Linked DNA regions of Homo sapiens: regions 2, 3, 4, 5, 6 and 7 are each linked to region 1. Evidence: promoter capture Hi-C in 16 types of primary human blood cells and fetal thymus (Javierre and others, 2016). All regions are on one chromosome and are shown on one strand. Each heading gives the region's core, a stretch centred on a gene start or on the middle of the fragment in contact. The rest is flanking DNA. Distances are from core to core; before and after follow the strand shown. Region 1 holds the start of CDK5R1 (cyclin dependent kinase 5 regulatory subunit 1). Region 2 has its middle 28 kb from the start of TMEM98. Region 3 overlaps TMEM98 (transmembrane protein 98). Region 4 has its middle 10 kb from the start of TMEM98. Region 5 holds the start of H2BN1 (H2B.N variant histone 1). Region 6 overlaps MYO1D (myosin ID). Region 7 overlaps MYO1D (myosin ID).

Evidence for each region. Contacts are between HindIII fragments. The CHiCAGO score rates a contact against its expected background, and 5 or more counts as called.
Region 2: a fragment that was not itself captured here is called in contact with the fragment with the promoter of CDK5R1 in region 1 in 1 of 17 cell types (megakaryocytes); the score reaches 5.1 in megakaryocytes.
Region 3: a fragment that was not itself captured here is called in contact with the fragment with the promoter of CDK5R1 in region 1 in 2 of 17 cell types (M1 macrophages and endothelial precursors); the score reaches 6.7 in M1 macrophages.
Region 4: a fragment that was not itself captured here is called in contact with the fragment with the promoter of CDK5R1 in region 1 in 3 of 17 cell types (naive B cells, endothelial precursors and M1 macrophages); the score reaches 6.7 in naive B cells.
Region 5: a fragment that was not itself captured here is called in contact with the fragment with the promoter of CDK5R1 in region 1 in 6 of 17 cell types (endothelial precursors, megakaryocytes, naive CD8 T cells and 3 more); the score reaches 8.4 in endothelial precursors.
Region 6: a fragment that was not itself captured here is called in contact with the fragment with the promoter of CDK5R1 in region 1 in 4 of 17 cell types (naive CD4 T cells, naive B cells, naive CD8 T cells and 1 more); the score reaches 6.2 in naive CD4 T cells.
Region 7: a fragment that was not itself captured here is called in contact with the fragment with the promoter of CDK5R1 in region 1 in 1 of 17 cell types (total CD4 T cells); the score reaches 5.0 in total CD4 T cells.

The regions. Positions count from the first base shown.
Region 1 is chr17:32,485,155-32,488,532 of GRCh38, forward strand. It overlaps CDK5R1 (cyclin dependent kinase 5 regulatory subunit 1), which reads left to right and starts at 1,839. Exons shown (of 2, transcript NM_003885.3): 1 at 1,839-2,008; 2 at 2,322-3,378. The coding sequence starts at 2,467. RefSeq lists enhancers at 625-1,126, 2,366-2,925 and silencers at 1,199-1,728, 1,839-2,098, 2,189-2,478. The HindIII fragment of the contact is 10,728 bases long and covers 1-3,378 here.
Region 2 is chr17:32,954,704-32,958,081 of GRCh38, forward strand. No RefSeq gene overlaps it. Among named protein-coding and RNA genes, the nearest start is that of TMEM98, 28 kb to the left of the region's middle. The HindIII fragment of the contact is 1,179 bases long and covers 1,272-2,450 here.
Region 3 is chr17:32,936,722-32,940,099 of GRCh38, forward strand. It overlaps TMEM98 (transmembrane protein 98), which reads left to right. Exons shown (of 8, transcript NM_015544.3): 7 at 2,756-2,815. Among named protein-coding and RNA genes, the nearest start is that of TMEM98, 10 kb to the left of the region's middle. RefSeq lists enhancers at 1-359, 270-564. The HindIII fragment of the contact is 4,161 bases long and covers 1-3,378 here.
Region 4 is chr17:32,915,988-32,919,365 of GRCh38, forward strand. No RefSeq gene overlaps it. Among named protein-coding and RNA genes, the nearest start is that of TMEM98, 10 kb to the right of the region's middle. RefSeq lists an enhancer at 1,859-2,490. The HindIII fragment of the contact is 2,539 bases long and covers 291-2,829 here.
Region 5 is chr17:32,893,564-32,896,941 of GRCh38, forward strand. H2BN1 (H2B.N variant histone 1) reads left to right here and starts at 1,870. Exons shown (of 2, transcript NM_001401340.1): 1 at 1,870-2,043. The coding sequence starts at 1,870. The region is part of intron 3 of MYO1D-DT (MYO1D divergent transcript); the gene reads left to right. RefSeq lists cis regulatory regions at 275-1,349, 841-902. The HindIII fragment of the contact is 923 bases long and covers 1,145-2,067 here.
Region 6 is chr17:32,857,480-32,860,857 of GRCh38, forward strand. The region is part of intron 1 of MYO1D (myosin ID); the gene reads right to left. Among named protein-coding and RNA genes, the nearest start is that of MYO1D-DT, 18 kb to the right of the region's middle. The HindIII fragment of the contact is 2,612 bases long and covers 493-3,104 here.
Region 7 is chr17:32,793,487-32,796,864 of GRCh38, forward strand. All of the region lies in intron 1 of MYO1D (myosin ID), which reads right to left. Among named protein-coding and RNA genes, the nearest start is that of MYO1D-DT, 82 kb to the right of the region's middle. The HindIII fragment of the contact is 807 bases long and covers 1,360-2,166 here.

The DNA of each region.
Region 1 (3,378 bases), core at 589-3,088:
CCTGAGTAGCTGAGATTACAGGTGCCTGCCACCACGCCTGGCTAATTTTTTTTGTATTTTTAGTAGAGACGGGGTTTCACCATGTTGGCTAGGCTGGTCTCGAACTCCTGACCTCAGGTGATCCACCCGCCTCGGCCTCCCAAAATACTGGGATTACAAGCATGAGCCACTGCGTCGGCCTCTTCTGGCTTCTTACTGTTACATGCAGGAGGGTTGAGGACAGCTCCATTTGAAGAGCAGGTAGGCTTGTACACTGAGGAACATTCACAGGGAGGGGCGCACTGAGCTGGGGGCCTGCCTTCCTCTTCTGAGTTCCCATAACAGCTGTTGTGGATGTTCTGAAAGGCTGTGGACAAAGTAGCCCTCTGGGTACAGAGCAATGCATTTTCCACTGTATGCCTTGCCCCCCAAGGTTCCTAAAGCCTGGAATTCCTATTGACAGAAATCTGAGTGGCACATAAACAAAACCCAGCACTTTCTGCCTTGATTGCACCATTTTGAATGATGCCAGATTCCCTTTCTGTTCCCCCTAGGACAGTTGACAGGGCTGGTGAAAGCCTAGTCGGCTGGAGTGGTCAGGTAACTGGGTGGCATCCTCTCCTCTGGAGAGCCACTCCCTCATCTCTAGGTCCAGAGATAATCTGGATTAAGACAGGGCTTAAGTTTCCTGTTTCCCAGGTTTGTGGTCAGTTTTGACTCGATCTCCAGAAACAAGGTAAAATAGTAAATGAACAACAGCCTTTGTGAAGGATCTGGATTCACATCTGACAGGAACAGCTTTCAGAAACAGAATTTTACTCAATTTCGCTAGCATCAAGTTCTCAAATTATACATACTTAGAATTGAAAACGTTTAAGAGGGTCAGAAAGCTGGCCGGAGGGGCAGTTGCTTCAGCTTTAATATGACAAATAAGAGGGCGAGTGGGAACTTAGAGGTCATATTTGTGACGGGCTCAGGCTTGGCTACGGGCCACGCTTCTCTGGCTTGGATCTCTGAGGCCCACTTCGGCCGCGGTCATCTACCCATGATGAGGGAACGGAGGCCCCGGAGGGGTGGCCAGAACCGATTGGACTGTCCACTCGAGGTGCGCGTGGCACTCGGGAGGCCTCAGTAAAGGCGTCGCCTCTCCCCGCCCAGGGCCTTCTTCCCCGCGCTCCCTGGCTGCTTTCCACAGGGACGGGGATGTCAGGTGGAAGGAGGGAGCTCCGGACCCTGGCCTCGGCGGAGGGCTCCTCACCAGGCCAGGGCGGCAGCCTCAGAGAGGGCGGGCCGCGCGCTGCCAGGGCAGGGACTCGGCCGAGAGTGCCCCCGCGGCCGGCAGCTGCGGGCGCCGCGGCGGGAACAAAGGCAGCACGTGTCTGGGCGGGACGCGGGCGGGGTCGGCCCTCGGCTCCGCCCTGCTCGGCGCCCGCCCCGCGTCGGCAGAGTTGGGTTGCGCGGGCGCCGAGGACTCTCCGGCGGCCGGGCTGCTGTTGGGCGGCGGCGCGGAGCGGGCGGCGAGCTGTGCGGGAGGGGCGGCCCCGAGGGGCGGGGCGGGCCGACGCCGCGTGTCCCGCCGCAGCCGCGGAGTCCGGCTCCTAGATGGGGCCCGGCGCGTAGAGGTGCCTCCCGCTCGTTGCCGCGTCCTACCCGCACCGTGCGCGGCTCGAGCTGAGGACACCAACGGCCGCGACTCCCCGGCGAGACCAGGCCGGAGCGTGGACGGCGCGCGCGCCCCGCGAGGGAGGGCGCTGAGGCGCGCGCCGGAAGCGGGAGCGGGAGCGGGAGCGCGGCGGCGGCGGCGAAGGTGCGGGCGGCCGAGCGGGGGGCGGGGCTGCGGTGCCTGCAGAACCTTGGACAGAAGCTCCCTAGCTGCCGCCGCCGCCGCCGCCGCCGTCGCCGCCGCCGAGCGCGAGCCCAGCCGATCCCCGCCGAGCGCCCCCGAGCGCCGCCGAGCGCCGGGACCGCGGCGGCGGGGCCGCGGCGCGCATTGCGGAGGGCGCGGAGCGCAGGAGCTGCCGCCTGCCGGGTAAGCCTGCGCTGGGCGGCCGTCCTTGGCCCTGGGGAGCGGAGACCGGGGTCGCGCCCGTGCGGGGTGTCCAGGCGGGGGTCCTCGGCCGCCTCCGTCGGCGACCGGGCCCCTCCCGGCTGCGCCTGGGGACCGCAGCGGCGGCGGCGGGCGGGGGTGCTGCAGTGGAGGCGGCGAGGCTGCGTCGCGGGGGCGCGGGTAGGGCCCGGGACTGGGGCGGCGGGGTGCGCCGAGGCGCGGGGCGGAGGGGCGCAGGGGCGCAGGGGCGCGGCGCGGAGCCCAGCCTGGCGCTAAGAACCATCTTGTTTTCCAGGCAGATCCAAGGGGGCAGCACGCTTCCCGGGAGCGCCCCCGCCTCCTCTCCGGGGCCGCCGCAGGCTCGGTGAGCGGTTTTATCCCTCCGGCCGGCAGGCTGGGCGCGCAGGGGCGCGAGCCCCCGCCCGGCGCGCAGCAGCACCATGGGCACGGTGCTGTCCCTGTCTCCCAGCTACCGGAAGGCCACGCTGTTTGAGGATGGCGCGGCCACCGTGGGCCACTATACGGCCGTACAGAACAGCAAGAACGCCAAGGACAAGAACCTGAAGCGCCACTCCATCATCTCCGTGCTGCCTTGGAAGAGAATCGTGGCCGTGTCGGCCAAGAAGAAGAACTCCAAGAAGGTGCAGCCCAACAGCAGCTACCAGAACAACATCACGCACCTCAACAATGAGAACCTGAAGAAGTCGCTGTCGTGCGCCAACCTGTCCACATTCGCCCAGCCCCCACCGGCCCAGCCGCCTGCACCCCCGGCCAGCCAGCTCTCGGGTTCCCAGACCGGGGGCTCCTCCTCAGTCAAGAAAGCCCCTCACCCTGCCGTCACCTCCGCAGGGACGCCCAAACGGGTCATCGTCCAGGCGTCCACCAGTGAGCTGCTTCGCTGCCTGGGTGAGTTTCTCTGCCGCCGGTGCTACCGCCTGAAGCACCTGTCCCCCACGGACCCCGTGCTCTGGCTGCGCAGCGTGGACCGCTCGCTGCTTCTGCAGGGCTGGCAGGACCAGGGCTTCATCACGCCGGCCAACGTGGTCTTCCTCTACATGCTCTGCAGGGATGTTATCTCCTCCGAGGTGGGCTCGGATCACGAGCTCCAGGCCGTCCTGCTGACATGCCTGTACCTCTCCTACTCCTACATGGGCAACGAGATCTCCTACCCGCTCAAGCCCTTCCTGGTGGAGAGCTGCAAGGAGGCCTTTTGGGACCGTTGCCTCTCTGTCATCAACCTCATGAGCTCAAAGATGCTGCAGATAAATGCCGACCCACACTACTTCACACAGGTCTTCTCCGACCTGAAGAACGAGAGCGGCCAGGAGGACAAGAAGCGGCTCCTCCTAGGC
Region 2 (3,378 bases), core at 611-3,110, 470 kb after region 1:
AGTATACAGAGAAAAAAAATTTTTTTCCGTCGTGGGGATAAAGTTCAAGGAACAACCTCACCAAGAAGGTGGGGCTGAGTGCCGCCCAGCTGGCTGGCTGCCTGCTGTGAATAACTAACCAGAACACATGGAATATGGCATGATACGGGCCAAGACAGAGCAAGGACCCAAGTTCATGTATGACCCTCATCACCCTCCTTTTACATGCTCCCAGCGCCATGGAGAGCTTGCAGTTGGGAGTTAAGAGGGGCTACTCTCCCTTCCCTTCCAGGTAGAGGTTAAGATTCATGTCTCATAGTCCTTTATTCTTCGGGGTTTTCTTGAGACTTATTTGAGTCAAATACGTGCCAAATGAGGACCTGTCCTGCTTAAGTACTGGAGTTGGAGGAGACTAAATACCTCCTGCTTATCCCTCCCTCTGCTTGCAACACCCTCCCTGTTCCTCAGTTCTTCCTCCAGGTACATCTCAAATGTTCCCTGTTATAAGAATAGCTAATATGCTTATACACTAATACTTATGTGGCAGATATATTTATTCATTTATTTAATCCTCTCAACAGCCCTACAGCATAGGTACTATTATTTCCATTTTGCAGATGAGAAAAACAAGGCACAAAAAGGCTAAGTAATTTATCCAAGGTGACACTGTTAGTAAATGGCAGACCTGGGATTGTATCCCAGTCTATTTCAAGATATTGAAGTTGGCAGCATGGTGTGGTGAAAGAGCCTGGATTGGGTTCAAATCTTGGTCACACCATTTAAAGCTGCATGAACTTGGGAGGTGGCTTAGCCATCTTGAACCTCAATTTTCTCATATCTGAAAGGGAATAATATGGTCGGGTGTGGTGGCTCATGCCTGTAATCCCAGCGCTTTGGGAGGCTGAGGCAGGAGGAACTTGAGGCCAGGAGTTAGAGACCGGCCTGGGCAACATAGCAAGAACCCATCTCTAAAAAATAAATAAATAGATAAATTAGTTGGGCATGGTGGCGTGTACCTGTAGTCCTAGATACTCAGGGAGCTGAGGCAGGGAGGATGGCTTGAGCCTGGAAGTTCTAGGCTTCAGTGAGCTCTGATTGTGCCAATGCACTCCAACCTGGGTGACAGAGTGAGACCCTGTCTCTAAAAAAAAAAAGGGAATAATACATCAAACATCATATAATTGTTTGTGAGGTTTAAAAAAGATAAATAATGACATTATTGAACATTTGAAAATAAGTAATACGTATTGGTTCTCTTCCGACTTTGAATCAATCAATTATATTAAGCATAAAGCTTTAGCATAGAATATTATAGGATAGAATGAGATGTCAGATCCGGAAAGGATCTTAGCAATGACCTAATCCAATGCATTGTCTGAAGCGTGAGGAATTATTGACACTTGCCCAAGGCCAGTCACATAGTAACTCAGTAACTGTGACAAAGATTGTGAGTTGCCTTTTCTAATATCTTGTCTCCCTTCTTAGCAATAGCATCCCTGGTTTTTAGCTGGGTTCATGGTGTCTTGGAAAAAGGCTACATTTCCTAGCTTTCCTTGGAGCTAAGTGTGGCCATTTGACTATGTCTGGCCAATGAGATGTCAGTGAAAAAGTCAAAGGATACTTTCTGGAAGTCTCCTTCAAAAGGGAGAATGCTGGTTCTTTTCCCTTTCTTCCATCTTTTTGCTTAGAAGGCAGATCTGGTAACTGAAGCTCTTGTCATCTTGAACAGGAGTATGTCATAGCCTAGGGATGACAGTGCCTTCACACTACCATGAGTTATTTACCTCTAGATTTATTTCATATGAGACAGAAGTAAACTTCTGTCATGTTTAAGCCACTGTTGGTTGGGTTTCCTGTTACTTGCAGTCTAATCTAATCCTAACAGACAGCATTAGATACGGACTAGAAACAAGGTCAATAAATGTTTATTGAGTTGAGGAGAGGTCCCCCAGAGAAGCCTGGCCTGTCTTTTTCCATCTCTGCAGGTATTTAGGAGAGAAGCTGGGGTTTTCACAACAAAACATCTTGAAGCCCTAAAATGACTTGTCATGCCTTGTGAGTGGGGGTGGGCTTATCTCTGGAAACCAGGGCTGTGGCTGGAGGAAGGTGCCCAGGTATGGGTGGTCTGGCACTGTCGGTCTTCTCTCTCAGCCACAGAGGGACAAACCTGTGGACAGAGCTATCCTTTGGTTCCAAATGTGGGTCTCTGCACACGGTCCGTCCCCTAAGCTCTCAGCTGGTGGGCTGAAGAAGCCTGAGGAAGCCAGGATCTGTGAGATGGCCCGATTACCTTGCCTGTTATTCACTTTGTTACTGGCATGTTTTGAAATTGATGATTTCTTTTCTTTCCTCAAAAAACTTGTTCCTCCCTTTGCTTTGCTTTTTTTTAAATTAATTTTTCTGTCATGAAATATTTCAAAGATAGACAAGAATAGAAAAGAGCATAATGAATACCTATTTACCCACGATTAAGCTTTATCAAATCTTAACATTATGTCATATTTGCATCAGATCTCATTTAAAGAAATAAAATATTACTGATATAATTGAAGATCTCCGCATATTCCACTCCTACCCCTGTTCCTCTCCCTCCTCAGAGGTAACTATTACCATGAATCCAGTGTTTATCATTCCTATGTATGTTTTTACACTTTTATTACATATTTATGTATTCATTAATACAATATAGCATTACTCAGTAGGGTTTTAAATTTTATATATAAATTGTAGCAGATTCCACTTATCATTGAATATTCCATTATATAAATATGCCACAATGTATTTCTCCATTTTCCTGTTGATGAATATTTATGCTGTTTCCTTTTTTTTTCTTTTTTATAACCCACACTATGCTGTGATGAATTCCTCCACTTACCTCCTCCTGGGGAACAGTGAGAGGGTTTGTTTAAGGCAAGTGTCAGCAAACTATAGCTTACAGGTCATACCTGGCTACCACTTGTTTTTTGTATGCAGCTATGAATTAAGAATGGTTTTTACATTTTTCCTTTTTCTGAATTTGAATTTTAACTTTAAAAATTGTGGTAAAATGGGGCCTGGCATGGTGGCTCATGCCTGCAATCCCAGCACTTTGGGAGACCAAGGTGGGCAGATCACCTGAGGTCAAGAGTTTGAGATCAGCTTGGCCAACATGGCGAAACCCCATCTCTACTAAAAATATAAAAATTAGCTGGGTGTGGTGGCACATGCCTGTTATCCCAGCTACTCGGGAGGCTGAGGCAGGAAAATCACTTGAACCCAGGAGGCAGAGGTTGCAGTGAGCCAAGATCGCACCACTGCACTCCAGCCTGGGCGACAGAGGTCTCACACACACAAAAAAATAAATAAATAAAAATAAATTAAAAATTATGGTAAAATATGCATAACAGAAGATTTACCATA
Region 3 (3,378 bases), core at 463-2,962, 450 kb after region 1:
CTGCCCTGCAGAGCCCGTGGCCGCCCCTCTTACCCAGCCACATACCAGCTCCCCTTGACACGCCTTCCTCCCAGGCCAACATGTCACACAGATGCCCACACCCCTGTCTCTGCCTGAATCTGTGTTGGAGACTAGCTTGGGGGACCCACTCTGGCTGTGCCCACTGCTCCATCCCTGGCCCAGGCCAGCAGCCTCCAGCACTGGGTGGGAGCTGAAGCCATATGGCATTCAACCTCCCAGATTCCAGGCTAACTGCGAAATCCCGTGTGGGAGGCAACCAGCAGGATTGCAGTCAACAGCTACACCCCCTCATTTGGGCTTGATATCGTGAGGAAAAATAAAGCCCTTTTCTTAGAGCCAAGGGCTGTACTAAGTTTGTGCTGCCACCTGGTGGCTGGTATGCCGACGTGCCTGAGCAGAGGGTCGGGGCCAGGATGTTTTCCACGTCAGCCACCTGGCCCCTCCGCCCACCCGGGAGGGCACCTCTGTATGCCTGCTGAAACAATGGCACTGCTGTGAGTTCCAGGGGCCCACACGTTCCTTGTTGCCATGGCCCCAGGTAAATCACGAGGAACCAGCCCTTTCTCTGCCTCAAGATTAACCAAATAAAAACGACCAGTTTCCTGAGTTGCCACGTGAGTTCCTCTGAGGGAATACACGACCTGGTCAGCTTGAACTCAGTCCAGGCAGTTCAGTGAGTTGAGAGAGTGGGAGGGAGATAATCCAGGGAGGGACTCAGCTGAGAACAGTTCCCTGCCTTCTCTGGAATTGCCTCCAGTGGGCTGTAGCCACATGGTCAGCCCCTGGCTTTATAAGAACCCACATCCCAGGCTCTGGGTGGGCACTGGGCATTCCTTCCCCATTATTTTATTTATTTATTTATTTTTGAGATGGAATCTTGCTCTGTCACCCAGGCTGGAGTGCGGTGGTGCGATCTTGGCTCACTACAACCCCCACCTACCGGGTTCAAGCGATTCTCCTGCCTCAGCCCCCTGAGTAGCTGTGATTACAGGTGCCTGCTACCATGTCTGGCTAATTTTTGTATTTTTAGTAGAGATGGGGTTTCACCATGTTGGCCAGGCTGATCTCAAACTCCTGACCTCAGGTGATCCTCCTGCCTCAGCCTCCCACAGTGCTGGGATTATAGGTGTGAGCCACCACACCCGGCCTCCTTCCCCATTAGTTTTAAAGATTCTGCACTATGGTATTCACTAGACCCTTTGTCATGCTTTTTGTGCCTTCTAAGAGCCACTTAGAGGCCAGGCAGATTCCTGTGATACAGGTTACAAGGCAGCACTTTCAGGAGGTTGAGGTTTCTGTGTGAGCCTGGGTGAGTAGGATCAGCACGGGTCCTAAGATGAGGGTGTGGCATTGTCCAGAGAGTGGACCTGTTCTGGTGCTCACAGGCCCATCCTAAAGAGTACCTTGGACTACTTCTAGAATGCTCCGTGCCATAATTCAGCCAGGGTCCTGCTTTGTCCTTTTGCCCTCACACTTCTTTCTCCTTCTGGCCATGTTTTGTCCCCATTGTTTTTCCTGCTCCATTTATCCCACACAGTGTGTTGATGGCCTGTGAGTCTCGAGGAGGTGGCTTCAGCTCCAGGGCACTAGAGAAAGGAGCTGGCTGAGATAGGCGCGGAGGGTGACTGTGTCTCTGCATGTCCTCACCGGCTCCACAGCCGTGAATAAGAGTGTTTGAGGCCATCTTTTTTTCAAGTGCTTTTAGAAATCAAACAATACATCTTTATTTTTTCTTCCTATCGAGTGTTCATGAGCAAAGATTTGGAGCAAAACCTTGTGCCACGCAAATCAGAATGAATTGTAGTTCTGAACTTGATTTAAAAAAATTAACCACAGGGTAGAAGAAATCCAGTAGAGCAGTGTGAAGCCAAATGAAACTCATGGCCTTCTTTTTCGGTGTCTTACATACCTTTAGCTTTGTATTTTTTTTTCCTGAATACAAGAGTAATTAATGCTTATAAAAATGTGAAATACTGCAGACATACATGACCTGGAAAGTCTACTCCCTCCCAATTGTAGGAAAAAACCACTATTAAGTGGTGAGTGTTCCTCCAGATCCTTCCCAACCCCACATTTCAGAGCTTTTGTTTATCTATTTTTATGCAAATGACAGATTGAGCTTTACATATTATTTGGCAATTTGCCTTTTTAATATAGTAGTAATCTTGAACATCATTCCATATGTATGACTGTATTTTAAAAAACCATTGGAACTGAAACAAAACTAGAAAACAAAGTAGTCTCTGCAAAGACTGAACCTGAAGTCTTTGTGCCTAAGTGTCTGTCTGAGAATGCAGAAGCAATTGGAGAAAGAACCATTAAAGACCAGGTCTGGAATACCAAAAAAGAAGAACTGGAATAAAGATAGAAAGGAAGGAAGGGGCCAGGCGTGTGGCTCACGTGCCTGTAATCCCAGCACTATGGAAGGCTGAGGTGGGTGGATCACCTGAGGTCAGGAGTTCAAGGCTAGCCTGGCCAACATGGTGAAACCCCGTCTCTACTAAAAATACAAAAATTAGCTGGGCATGGTGGCGCGTGCCTGTAATCCCAGCTACTTGGGAAGCTGAGGCAGGAGAATCACTTGAGCCTGGGAGGTGGATGTTGCAGTGAGCTGAGATAGCACCACTGCACTCCAGCCTGGGTGACAGAGCGAGACTCTGTCTCAGGAAAAAAAAAAAAAGGAGAAAAGGAGATCAGGAAAGTGAAGTACTGAACACCTTTTGCCTCCGGTCAGGGTGGATGATGTTGTGAAGTCGATGTACCCTCCGTTGGACCCCAAACTCCTGGACGCACGGTGAGACCAGGGGTGGGTGCATGTTCGGTTTTTCATGCAGAGGTCCACAACCGTTTTATCAGATCTGTGAGGCTGGCTGACTGGCTTGTGTAGGGAGGGTGGCTTTGCAGCCTCCTTAGGCTGCCCGGGCCATGCGTGCCATTTACTTCAGTGAGCGGCGCCTGACTGGGTGATAGAGGCCAGTCCTCTCCTGAAACCCAGGAGAAGAAAGAGGCAGTCTTAGATTTTAAATTGTTATGATTAGACTTCCGGCCATGTTACATCCTAACTGTGCCTTCCCTTCTACCTTTTCCCCTTTCCCCCTCTGATTTTTGTACCCCAGAAGCAGACATGCCTTAGCTGTGAGTGCCACCCAGTTGGGCGGTGGGGCAGTGGTTCCCAGAGCAGTGAGAATGGAGGTGACAGGTCAGCCACAGCTGTGCTCACCTGCCACCAGACATGCGCATACACAGAGTGTACTTAGCCCTATGAAATTGTTATGTTCCTATACCAGATGCAACCCATTTAAGAAATATAGATTCTTTCGTGCCTTGGATTTATATGACTGTGTCATACACATGTAA
Region 4 (3,378 bases), core at 310-2,809, 430 kb after region 1:
TGCAATTCAGTCTTGTGCAACACTGAGGTCTTCTCAGATCAATCCTGAGAGAGATTTCAAGGGGCCTTGGGATGTTAGAACAATGGGAGACAGCTGGCTAGAAAAGGTACTGGGCACAACCTTGGTACAACTCTTTCCTCCCAGCAGCAGGTTAGTGGGTGGTTAATTGGGGCATGCATACTGTCAGCTCCAGGCAGTCGCTGAGCTGTTTATTCACTTGTTTATATGTTTGCTTGTTTTTTGGTAAGTGTATGTCTTTTCTATGTGTGCTTCAACCTCCTCAAGATTAAAGCTTTCTTTTACATCTCTTGTACAGAGTCACAGAACCCCAGACCTGGAAGAGGCCACAAGAGATCATGTGGTTTTAGCTTCTTACCTCAAGGCCACCAAATGTTTAACCACCCAACACAAATAGAAATAGTTCGTCTCAGAGACTCTCCAAGAAATGGACACATTTAATGTCCCCAGTCACCCATTCCAACGCTGGCTGCTTTGCTTTGAGCCTATTTTCCTTACACAGATTGTAATGCTTGTAGCTTCTTCATGAAAGCACTTCAGAGGATTATAAAATCATCCCTCAGCCTTCTTTTCCCTGAGAGCCAATGGTGGGAAAACCCAGCTACCTACAGGTCCAGGCTCTTACCAAAAGGGTGAGCTGTGAGTGTGTGCACATATGTTGTAGGGGCAATGGGGTAGTGCTGGGTCTGGAAAGCAAGCCTCGGACAACACCTGCCCTCTCCTGCTGACTGTTGCTACTGGTGGAATGTAGGCTGTGTTTTTGAGAGATCTTATTAATTTTTCAGGGAAGCTGGAAATCTAGAATTATAAGTGAGAGTCCTGATTTTTTAAAATGTTGGCAACTAATCTGATTTTTAAAAACCATGAACCGGGCCAGGCGTGGTGGCTCACACCTGTAATCCCAGCACTTTGGGAGGCCAAGGCAGGAAGATCACTCGGGGCCAGGTATTCGAGACCAGCCTGGCCAACATGGTGAAAACCCATTTCTACTAAAAATACAAAAAATTAGCCAGGCATGGTGGTGCATGCTTATAATCCTAGCTACTCGAGTGGCCGAGGCATGAACTCAGGAGGCAGAGGTTGCAGTGAGCCTGAGGCAGGAGAATAGGGTCTGGAGGCAGGGAACCCAAGGCTGATTCACCCTGAATTCCTAGAACTAAATCAAAAGGAAAACCCCAACTTTCAACACCTAAGCAACAAAAGGACCAGAGGCTACTCCCTTTGCAAACCACCCTGCCTTTCTGCTTGGCAGATAGAAAATTGAAAGTACCTCTGATAGATTGCTTTCCAAAACCAATCAGACATTTGCATAGGAGGGTAACTTTGTAACTTCACTTCAGCCTCTGATTGTGGAAAGCAACCAATTAGACTGATTGCAGGCCACCACTTCATTTGCATGGGGTGAATACCAAGTGCCCAATAGGAAACCTCTAGAGGGTGTTTGGACCCCAGAAAATTCTGTAATGGGGGCTCTGGAGCCCCTATGCTTGGGCCCGCTCCCACCCTGTGGTGTGTGCTTTCATTTTCAATAAATCTCTGCTTTTGTTGCTTCATTCTTTCCTTGCTTAGTGCATTTTGTCTAATTCTTTGTTCAAAATGCCAAGAACCTGGAGACCCTCCACCGGTAACATATTTTGGTGAGCCAGCCAAAAGGTAAGCCCAAAGTTTGGGGTTTATTTTTCTCCTTTCTGCTCCATACAGGGTAATCTCTCTGTCTCTCTCCCTCTCTCTCTCTCTCTCTCTCTCTCTCTTTTTTTTCCTTTGCAACTCGGGTCCCTTGGTGAGCAGTGCCTAAGCATGGAGGCAACTCTAGGTCTCTGGCTGTGGCAGGTGAACTGAAAGGGTTTTCCATGTGGAGGCACCTAACTGCCACCGCCTGGTTTGCTTAAGGGACCTGGGTATTTTTCCTTTCTTTCTTTTTCAGTCTTTCAGTGGCTGTTTCCTAGCAGCTCCTTGGTAATTGAGGGCAACTGGCTGGGACCACTCTCCAGTGTTGCCTGAAGGCAAAGGAGTGAATGGGGATAACTGCCCTGCCCAGAAGCAGGAAGGACTCTTCTGTCTTTTCTGGTTGTGGTCCCTGATCGCTACATGTGGCACAGCTTGGGGCGAACTCACAAGTGTTTCAGGCGACTTAAACCTTTTCTTATGCTAAATTCTTCCCTTCTCCTACTCGACTGGCTAAGGGCAAAAGAAACCCACTCAGCCTCCAGTTCCTGTCATTAAAGTTCATGGCTATCTCTAGTGGAATGAAGAGCATGGGAAATTGTGGCCTTAACAAATTATAAGAGTGCTGTAAGTCCAGGCCTTCATCCAAGGATAAAAGGAAAGCTCATAGTAGGCCATGACCTCTGGAGGGAAAACATGCAAAGTGGCACTGGTGCCCATCTAAGGTCAGAGACATCTGACACTCTAAGATTGGACCCCAAAGGGGGACACTCTGGGGGATCCTCTGGACCACAACCTCTCCAAAGAGAACGCCCTCGGCAGAGGTTCTTAGGCCTAGTACTAAGCCCTCGTTAGAATTTTCTCTTGCAGTTGCGATACTGTTTGGCCCCAATATTGTTTGGAATCTGGAGTTTGCTGTTGAATGGGAAAGTAGGATGGAGTTGCATGTATCCAGGCTTTAGTGCTGCTGTCCTAAGCAGGGTTGGGTCTGGTTAATATGTGATGCTCTCCTTTGGTGCTGTTTGGCCCCAGTGTTCTTTGGAATCTGGGGCGGTCTGGCCTTTAAAAATCAAACTGCTTTACCTGAAATTTTGGTTCACGGCCTTCATTGGATTACCTATTGGGGCAAACAAAGTAAAACTGGCAAGCTTGTATTGCTATCTCATGGCTAGGATTCCAAGGTAAAAGGTATTGGATCTTCATTTATTTGTGTGTAGTGTGTATACATGTCTAGATGTGTTTATTTGTATGTATGCTTATTGTTATATGTTGTGTCTACCAAACTGGCTTGTAAGTAAAAGAGCCCTCATAAATTAAATAAATAAGTTTAAGCAATGTTCAAGTTCATGTGACTTAAGTATAACTTTACTAAACAAGCTGCTTTTAAAATTATTGGTAAAATAAAAATAGAAATGCCTTCAGAACTGTCAGCATACACTTTTGTCTGGATTTTATATTTGTCTCTGCTAGATATTTTGAGGTGTCCAGGTTTGGCATAGAAAGTTATAAAACTATAAACCCAGCCAAAACAAAGTGATCTTGGTTTGCGTGCCCTTTTTATTGACAAACATGAGTAATTTAATGTTGTCAGCTAAATCTTGTGATTTATTAGCAAAAATACCTATGTATTTAACTTTGAGACTCTTACTTAGGTTTAGGTGAGCACCTGATGTTCACTGGCTATTCAAAACGTAG
Region 5 (3,378 bases), core at 356-2,855, 410 kb after region 1:
CCATGTTGGCCAGGCTGATATTGAACTCCTGACCTCAAGTGATCCGCCCGCCTTGGCCTCCCAAAGTGTTGGGATTACAGGCGTGAGCCACCACACCCAGCCATATATGGCATTTTAAAATAGAGAGTTTAAAGATGAGACTGGTGACTTGAGAGTAAGAGTTGGGGGTGGGGTGGGGGCATGGTTTTGACAACCAGGCAACAAGCAACTACCTTTTCCTTTCATACTTGTTCCTTTCCAGTACACAGAGGTATTCTGTTTAGTTTTTGTTGTCGTTGTTGTTAACTCAGGCACTATTCAGATTTTTTTTTCAGGGTTTTAAATTCAGGACTTTGCAGAGTATCAAAGAAATAATTCAGAAGAATTCAACCTACACTATAAATAAGTTACATTTGAAATTCTCCAGCAATGAATTGATACATGTAGCAATTATGTAGAGCACATGTGTAACTACAAACATTGTGGGGCTCTGGTGTTCAGTTTTGGAAGGAGAGAGAATGCGAGTTAGAAAGCAAAGGCTCCAAGGCTGGCTTTGCCACTCAGACACTGTATATGACCCTGTGCAAGTCACTTAAGCCCTCTGAACCTCAGTGTCCTTCTCTGTTAAGTGGAGTAATGCTAATATCTTACCTCATAGCGTTGCTCTGATAATTAAATGGGATAAAGAATGTTAGTGTGGCATCTGGGACATAGTTAGGGCTCCTAAGTTGACGGCACTGTTATTATCTGCCAGTCCCTTGCACCAAGGCTTTGAAGCAACTTATAACCAGTAGTAGGGGAAAGAGTGTCTGTTCTGATCTGGTTCTTCTCTCCTTTGACACCCTGGTTCTCTGGTGTCCTCTTATCTGTTCGTTCGTGTCAGGCTGGTCAATTCCTTGTAGCTGAACTGATACACTAATTGCAGGAAGTTCATGGGCTATCTACAATTTCTCAAAGTTGAGTCTTGTAGATACAGTCACTTCCTGGCATTTTTGTTCATGCTGTCACCCAAGTTCCTAATTGCTGTTGCATAACCAGGTATGTGCTTGCCTTTCAGAGGATGCGTTTTTCTCCTGATGCAAATACAAATACAAGGCATAAGTGCAATGTCTGTGAATAGATGCCTCCTCCACTCCAACCCAAATCTTGTGTAGTTGTTTCAGGAAGCTTTCATAGATCAATAAATTCCATATCTGGTTGGTCATTAGATTTACCTGGCCTGCTTTAGAAACATCTATCTTCCAGGTTTCACTCCCAGTCTTTTGAATATAAATCTTAGTGGCTAAGAATCATGTAATAAAAACACCTTGAGTTAGGTACAATAAAAGAATAACTTCTGAAATGACTGTTGCCTGGTAAATTAATGGCCATTGCATCAAAGTAGCCTCTCTCGTTTAGAGTCTACACCTAATCTTTTTTTTTTTTTTTTTTTTGAAACAGAGTCTTACTCTGTCACCCAGAATGGAGTGCAGGAGTGCAGTGGCATGATCACGGCTCACTGCAGCCTCCATCTCCTGGGCTCAGGTGATCCTCCCACCTCAGCCTCCCAAGTAGCTGGGACCACAGGCATGTACCACCATGCCCGACAATTTTTTTTTTTTTTTGGTAGAGACAGGGTTTCACCATGTTGCCCAGGCTGGTCTCAAACTCCTGGGGTGAAGTGATCCTCCCACCTCGGCCTCCCAAAGTGCTGGGATTACAAGTGTGAGCCACTGTGCCGGCCTACACCTAATATCTATTAAGGATTCTGAGCACCTTCATCTTCTGCAGGTGTGATCACTAATTTAATTAGGAAAGCATACTTCAGCGCTCCCTATAAAACCTTTTTGGAGCACACACTGACCTACAGCCAGTGCTCTGAGCTAGGGGCCTAAAGATTGAGCTTTCAACATGTATTTCATTTGCTTAAATGACCTAAGATTCCCTAAGAACAAGACTGAGCTTTATTTCCCAGTCAAAAAGAAGCATGAGTGGGCCAACTCAGCCACTGGGAAGAAGAGGAGGTGGAGAAAGAAGAGGAGGAAGGAAGCCTATTTTAGTTACATGGGGAAAATCCTAAAGCAAGTGAGTTGGTGCACTCTTTGTAGAAGCTTAGAATGGCCAAGAGAGGTATCATGTTAGCGGCCCTGGGTATCATCTTGACTTCAACTTACTGTGATACAGGAGTCCTTCACACATAGTGTTCCTGAAAAGTTATGTGCCAACAGCTTTTCTAAATTGGATCTGCTAATGGCTGCTGTCTTCTCTCGCTTCGTTTTCTTTCTGTTGGCAGCAGCTCTGAACACCTGAGCTCTTAATGAATGTCTCTCTCGCTCTCGTATCTGTTGACAGGCAATCTGTAAATCTGTAAACTGATTCTTTTTCCTTTTTTTTGAGATGGGGTCTTGCTCTGTCACCCAGACTATAGTGCATTGTTGCAATCATAGCTCACTGCAGCCTCCATCTCCTGGGCTCAAATGATTCTTCCACCTCAACCTCCCAAGTAGATGAGACTATAAGCCCACGCCACCATGCCTAGCTAATTTGCTTGTCTGTTTTAGTGGGTTTTTATTTTTTTTAGATAGGGTCTCACTACGTTTCCCAGGCTGGTCTTGAACTCCTGGGCTCAAGCAATCCTCCTATGTTGGCCTCCCAAAGTGTTGGAATTATAGACATGAGCCACTGCGCCTGGCCTAAACTGATTCTTAAACGCCCTCTCCTTTTCTTGTAAAGCGGATATTTGCCACCTAGTCTGTTTTGTAACTTTGAAGAGTGGCATAGATCAGTTTTCGTCAAATGATGCTCTGTATTTCTAATATTACTTAGGAGGGGTAGGCACCCTGGTTCCTTCCTCCTGCCCACCCAACTTCACCCCGTGGCATAAGAAATTGGTAGAAAACAATCAGGAAAATCTTCCCCCTCAAAAGCTGGGAAGATTCAAAAGATGTAAGGAGATTTTCTGAAATCTTGACTGAATTTTACGCCTTCATGACAAGGAAGTAAGTTTGAGTGTTCACGTGTGTCATACCACAGCTCCCATATTCCGGTAATATCATCTAGAATCTGTTGCTTATCTTGGGAAACAAAGGGGAAAATGAGATTAAGGAAAGATGGGAGAGGAGAGAAGGTGCATGATGTGTAGTGAGGATATATAGAACAGAGCTTCTCAACCATAGCCCTGTTGACATGTTGGGGCTGGTTAACTCTTTGTTGTGGGGTTCTGTGCATTGTAGGATGTTAAGCAGCCTCTACGGCCTCTATCTGCTACATGCCAGTTGCTCCCTCCCTCCCAGTTGTGACAACCAAAAATGTTCAGGCATTGCTGAATGTCCTCTGGAGGGCAAGATTACCCCCAGTGGAGAACCCCTGCTCTAGAGCCTGTAGGGCTGGTAGGACCCTCTATGGGAGTACTTGCATTAA
Region 6 (3,378 bases), core at 549-3,048, 370 kb after region 1:
GAGGCTGAGGCAGGGGAATGGCGTGAACCCAGGAGGTGGAGCTTGCAGTGAGCCGAGATCGCACCACTGCACTCCAGCCTGGACGACAGAGCAAGACTCCACCTCAAAAAAAAAAAAAAAAAATAGACTCCTTTAACCCTATCAGACTGGTCTTCTCACCGTCCCTGAACATGTCACAACCATTCACAGAGGCACCCCTGCATGGAATGCTCTCCCTTGCCATTCTTACTTCATGCATACCTAAGTCTTATTCACATTCCAGCATTCAGCCCAATCCCTTAATCAATAAAGGCCTTCCTTAACCACCAAAGCTCAGACTCCTCAGAAATTTTCTCCACATGTGAACTGTAGAATATTGCTACTAATCATCAGGCATTTATTATATGCTACTTTCGGGGGTTACATATCTTTTCATTCCATTTATCTCCAATTATATCATTATTCTTGGAACGAATTATATGTAGTCCTCAGTATACACAGTTTCTAGCAAAAAGCTTTAAGTAATACCTGTTGATTGGTAATGTTAATTGTTAATTTGTAATAACTGAGAGCATAACATCATTTAATATTTTCAACTGTTCCTTTAAAATATGCATTTAGACAACTGGAATCCTAGAATGTATGACTTTAGAGGCCACATAGACCAATATTCCAGATGCACAACATCTCTTTACAAGAACCTAATGAGTGAACCTTTAACTCCAGTTTCAATAAGTTCACATGACCAGAAACTCATTACCTTCTTTGGGAACCATTTGATGTCTAAGTAGCAGTTCCAAAATACAACTATCAATATCAGGAGATTAACATATGATATATTGCTAAGATTTAATTCTTGAACCCTATTCAAATTCTACCAAATGCCCCAATAAATGTCCCTTATAGCAAAAGTATACAGTTCAGCATCATGCTTCACCTTTAGTTGTTATGTCTTGTTATTCTCGTTGCTTCTAGAATACTTCCTCAGTCTTTCTTGGAATTTAACATTTTTGAAGGTTACAGGCTAGTTATTTTAAAGACTGGCCTTCAATCTGAGCTTGCTAGGTGTTTCCTCTGATTAGATTCAGGTTATGCATCTTTAGCAGGAATGTCACAGAGGAAGTAATGCTGTGTTTTTCTCATTGCACCTGATCACATGGTACATGATTCTGATTTGTCCCATTTCTGACATTGTTCATTTTGATCACTTCATTAAGGTAGCATCTGTCAGGCTTCTCCACTGTAACAATAATCTTTTTTTCTTTGGTATTAATTAATTGAACATTTTGTAGGGAGATACTAAGTAAATATCCCATTCCTCATCAAACTTCAAAAGTTATTTATTAGTTTATGTAAGTATGGACTCATGGTTTCCGATTTCATTTTGATGATTAAACTGACCCAGATTTAGCTAGTGGGTACTCACTTAAGCTGCTTTCTGAATCTGTTTTACATTTTTCATCATTCTTTGAGGATTTCCTTGCTTTCTGAAAATACAAGATGCCCCCGGCTCACCTTGTATTAATATTTACTTTGTGACAACCCTGGAATTACCCATTTCTCCACAAAGCCCTGATTTCTTTCAGTGGAGGATGGTACTAGGTGTGACCATTGCTATTATATTAAGGTATCACTGCTCCCAGGTCCTCACAATGGACAGAGATGGGGAATACATAATGTATGGATATAGGTGCATACGCATTCACATCTATATTTACTCCTCTGTCTAGCTGTATATTGAAAACTTCTGATTCCAATCTAACTACAAAGGGTTGACTGTACTTTTCCCCTTTCCATATTTGGAGCTCTCTTTTATGACCATGAGAAACCTGACTCCATTATCCTCAACATATTTACTTGTTTGTCAATCTCCCTGTTTATCACTTATCTCCCACTGCTGTCACCAAGACCATGCCAGCACGGATGCTCTTTTTCCATACTCAGGTCCTCATGCATTGGCCCCCTCTTTACTCAACTTGGCTCCAAACTCTAATCTGGGCCCCTGTGGCTCCCCTTCCCCTGGGATGGATGCCTACCTTGCTGTGCCCCAACCCAATGGCTTTAGGACCAAATTCTTCAGGAGGAAGAGAAGAAGAGGAAGAAAAGGAGCAGAAAGATAAATCTACATCTCTTCACTTTTACCCACTGGCATGAATTCTGTCTTTTGGGGTCTCCCAGAATAAACATAATCAATTCATACGCAAGTATTTGAGGTTGGTGTTCATGTCCTGTCTTGTTCCTTCAGTCATTCCTTAAATGACATGGTTTCAAGTACCCTCAACATATTGAGCATTCTTTTCTGAATAAATCCTATTCTGTCTACATAGCTTGTAAAACTGTGTAGAGGAGGCACTTTTGGTTGCCTATCCAATATCCTATTCTGCCCCTAAAATTCCTTCTTTCCTAAAAAAGCCTGACTTTGTTCAGGTATCCACTCCCTTCCATACAGCCACATGCTGCAGGAAATGAGAAATCTATCATCAGCGCCTGACTATTCCATCATGATAACCACATTCCTCTTACCAGTGGCAGGTTTAATAATGGGCATGTGACCAAATGCTAACTAATGTGACATGTAAGGAAGTCTTCTGGGGGGCTTCCTAAGCAAGGAGCACAACACAAGCAGAGAGCTCACTCTCCTTCCTCAGGACATTACTGTGCCTGGGTGAGATGCACAGAACTGTTGCAACGACCTTCCACCAGCTGAGGATGAAACCAGCACAAGAAGGGCAAAACCAAGGGAATCACAGACAAGTGGAGGCAGAGTCCTTAGGGACTGGCCAGAACCTCTCTTATCATTAGCCTTCTTGTTGTGTGAGATAACATGTTTCTTTTCTGTTTAAGCCAGTTTGGTCTGGTTTTCTTTTTAGCTGCCCCCAACAGCATTCTGACTGATATAGAGTGAAGCTAGCAACCACACACCCCTCCAGGAGAGGTGTGATAAGCTAGGGAACTTCCAAGTCCCTGTATTTCCTCTGACATAGCCCAAGTCAATGGTGACACATAACATAGACTACTAAGACCTCCATCTTTCTCACACCTACAACAATGTTATTTTGTATTTGTATTGTTAAATTGTTGCCCTTCAATAGAGAACTAGAGGTTTACTTCTTATTTACATTGTAAGCTTTTCCATTGTTTCAACTAGTTCAGGTCTTTTAAGTGAGAATAATAAAGGAAATTGAAGAGTTGCTACTTGATTGCAAAGCAAAAGAGCTAGGAATAGGACAAAAACCGAATAATAAACACAAAGCTAGGAGACAGATTTTTGCCCCCGTAGTAAATGTGCCACTAGACTAGTAAAAAGTCCTGACTTTCTGTGTTTCTAACTTCATGCATCTATACAACAGTGAGGAACCTCAAGATTCCCTTCCGGCATTAAAATTCTATGACTCAAGA
Region 7 (3,378 bases), core at 513-3,012, 310 kb after region 1:
AAAAATTGTATTGCTTGACATTTGAATTATTTATGCAATTATATAATCTCCACATAGACAGTTCTAACCACTTCTTGGTTTACACTTTCTTAAAATGATTTGGAAAAGGATGCTTTATTTTGATCTTTTGTTAACACACTGAAGCCTAGAATTAACAACTTGGAAGACAGCACTTAAGAACCACCACCACAGCCCATCAGTGCAGCATATGGGTATTCCCAGGCCCATCGATAGCAGAGGAAAGGGTGTATTGATTAAGAAGGTGGACTCTGGGATCTGGCTGCAGTTTAGCACTGACTAGCTCTATGATCACGTGGAAGCTGTTTAACCTCCCTGTGCCTCACTTTCTTCAACTGATATAGTACCTTTCCCTCAGAGGATTGTTACAAGAAGTGAGATACTCTGCATAAAGTGCTCAGCACACTAATTAGTACATGGTAACAGCACAATAATACCAAGTCGTATTTTTATTATGAGCAATAGCAGAAGTCATAAGAATGGCAGGAAATATCTTTCTTCCACTTGAGACCCATTGTTCAGCATGCGGCATCAGTGCTATGTTTCTGTTTAACATCACAGTGAGGGTTACTTCTGCTAGCACAGCGAACGGTGATCCAGCTTGGCTTCATGTTTATAAAGCATTCTTCTAGCAGTTCATGGGGACCCTCTAAGGCCAAATGCCTTCAGTAAAATTGCTTAGGCTTACCACAGGACATAAGAACTAGTTAGGACCACAGGTGGTGGATTAAATGACTGACGTTGTGACTTCATTTCTTGGCTTTCTTCTTCTGGTGCAATATTTCTTCATTTGAGCTGCACAAATGGTAGTTAACCAGAAGATGTGGTCAGGAGATGCCTAGATGAATTATCTTACCTTTCCTCTGCAATGGAAAACAACTGTTTTTGATATATACGTTTTTAGGTGATGCTTGCTTTTTCAAAACACAATTCTTTTATTTATTATGGCATGCCTAATTTTAAATGTTATTGATGTATTTAATTGTATTTGTATCCAGTTGTTTATTCAATCAATCATTAGTTATTAGCACTCATGTTCCAAGCATTGTGCTGGGAGCCACAAGCAGAAGAATAAACAGCAGACTCATCTCCACCCTAATGCAGGCAATGATAAGGACAGACACTAAATGGAGGTCCAGGGAGAGCCAATAGAATGCACTGTACTGGTGGAGGGAAGCAGCAGTGTTTGAGGAATCCAGAGCAGGGCATGTGACTATACCACAGCAGAGAGAGCATAGGGAGAGAGGTGTGGGAGGAGGGCCAGAGCGCGCAAGGCCTTAGGGCTTGTGGACTTTATCCAAGGGTGGAGCTTTAAGTATTGATCACATTTGCTTTTTTGAAAGCTTCCCTTTGGCTGCAGGGTGTAAGGAATTGAGTGCCTGCTAATGGACCAATTAGGAAGCACTACGCTGGTCTCAGGAAGGAATGACGGGTTCTCTGGTTGGGATGGAGCAGTAGAGAGACAGAGAAGTAGACAGGCTTTAAGAGTAGAGATATAATCTATTGGAGACGGTAACTTACTGGGTATGAGAGGCAAGAAAGAAGGAAGTGTCAGGGTAAGTATCTCACATGAGCTACTGAGCAGACCGTGATGCTCCATTAATGAGGATAGGGACAGGAGGCAACTGTGATTCAGACAGACTATGCAATCTGTTTGAGACACCTGAGAGACATCCAAGTGAAGATGTTTCTCACACTTCTTTCTCTCATAGAATTAAACCCGATCCCCTGAACACAAAGTGAACAACACCAAGGATGGCAAACACAGATCATCAGCAGTGGAGAGAGCAAGCAGATAACCACACCATCACGGCCAGCAAACACGGCAAGGAGAACACATACTTCATTGCCCCATTTAAAAGTGGAAAAATATTTTAAAGAGACAGGAGATATCTGGGTTCTATTTAAATTTTTTTTTTTTTTTACTAACTGAATTCATCATACCAAGTTCCTCAGTGATTCAACCTTCCTGGTATAATAGAAACAAACACAATAGCTTCCTCCCATAAAACGTTAACTACTAAGGTCTCATGCAATTCAGTTTTTTAAAAAATACAATAAAGAAGCTATACAATGTCAGCACATGAATAAATCACCATAGCATTATTTAGCTATGAAGTGCTTGTAAGATTCTCCCCGGGGCCTGAAAGCTTAAGGAGATGAATAACTCCTCTCTTCTCAGGCCCAGTTCCAAGGTGCAACTTGGGGCAGCAACTTGCGCCAGCAAGACAGCAGAAGGAGGAAGAGAGTCCGCCTGAAGACAAGTACTCCTAAAGACTGAGAAAGAGGCCATCCGGGTACAACATAGCAGTTACGTCAGACTACGACACTTCCTGTTTACAGGAGACTATAAAACCTTTGCCCCGTCCTCACTTGGTGCTGAGGCCATTTTAGGCCTCAGCCCGCCTGCACCCAGGTGCTCATTAAAACAGCATGTTGCTTCACACCACCTCATGTTGTCTGTTAGCGCGCTCTCGGGGTTCGAACCGATACAAGACCCTTAACGGTGCTGAGTGTCCAATAATGACAGGCATGAAGATTTAAACCAAAACATGAGAATGAAAATTACCTATTAATAATATGACACTGATTTTCTCTTTCAACCAACAATAAACATAATTTATCCAACATAGGGCTCAATATTTATATATTTATTCCTTTTCATCCATTCCATTTAGAAATGATTTCCCATTATGGTAACATTTGGCTACTTGGCATACCTAGGGAAGTAGTTAGCTGCATTTTACCTTAACTGGGGAGTTAGCTTATTTATAAATCAACACTGCTCAGGAAAATGAAGGATACCTGGACCTGATGTAGAAAACTCTTTAGTAGGCATTGACAATTATATGAATTGATAACAATTATGCATTTTAAATAATATTAAAAACCATGTGAATTACAGTATTAAACATACTTTTTTTTTTGAGACTGTCTCACAGTGTTGTCTGGACTGCAGAGCAGTGGCATGATCGCAGCCTCACTACAACCTCCACCTCACAAGCTTAAGTGATCCTCCCACCTCAGCTTCCTGAGTAGCTGGGACTACAGGCGCGGGCCACCACATCCAGCTAATTTTTGTATTTCTTGTAGAGACGGGGTTTTTGCCATGTTGCCCAAGCTGTTCTCGAACTCCTAAGCTCAAGCAATCTGCTGGCCTCAGCCTTCCAAAGTGTTGGGATTACAGGTGTGAGCCACCATGCCCAGCCAAACATCCTTTTAAAAAACAAGTAAATCCCACAGATGGCTGAGGACTTTAACTAAATAGAATAAACTTAAGATTCTCATCCCTTCCCACTCTCAAATTTATACTGGTAGGAAGCCTCTCTACCTTACATGGTACTGAGGTATTTCACTCCA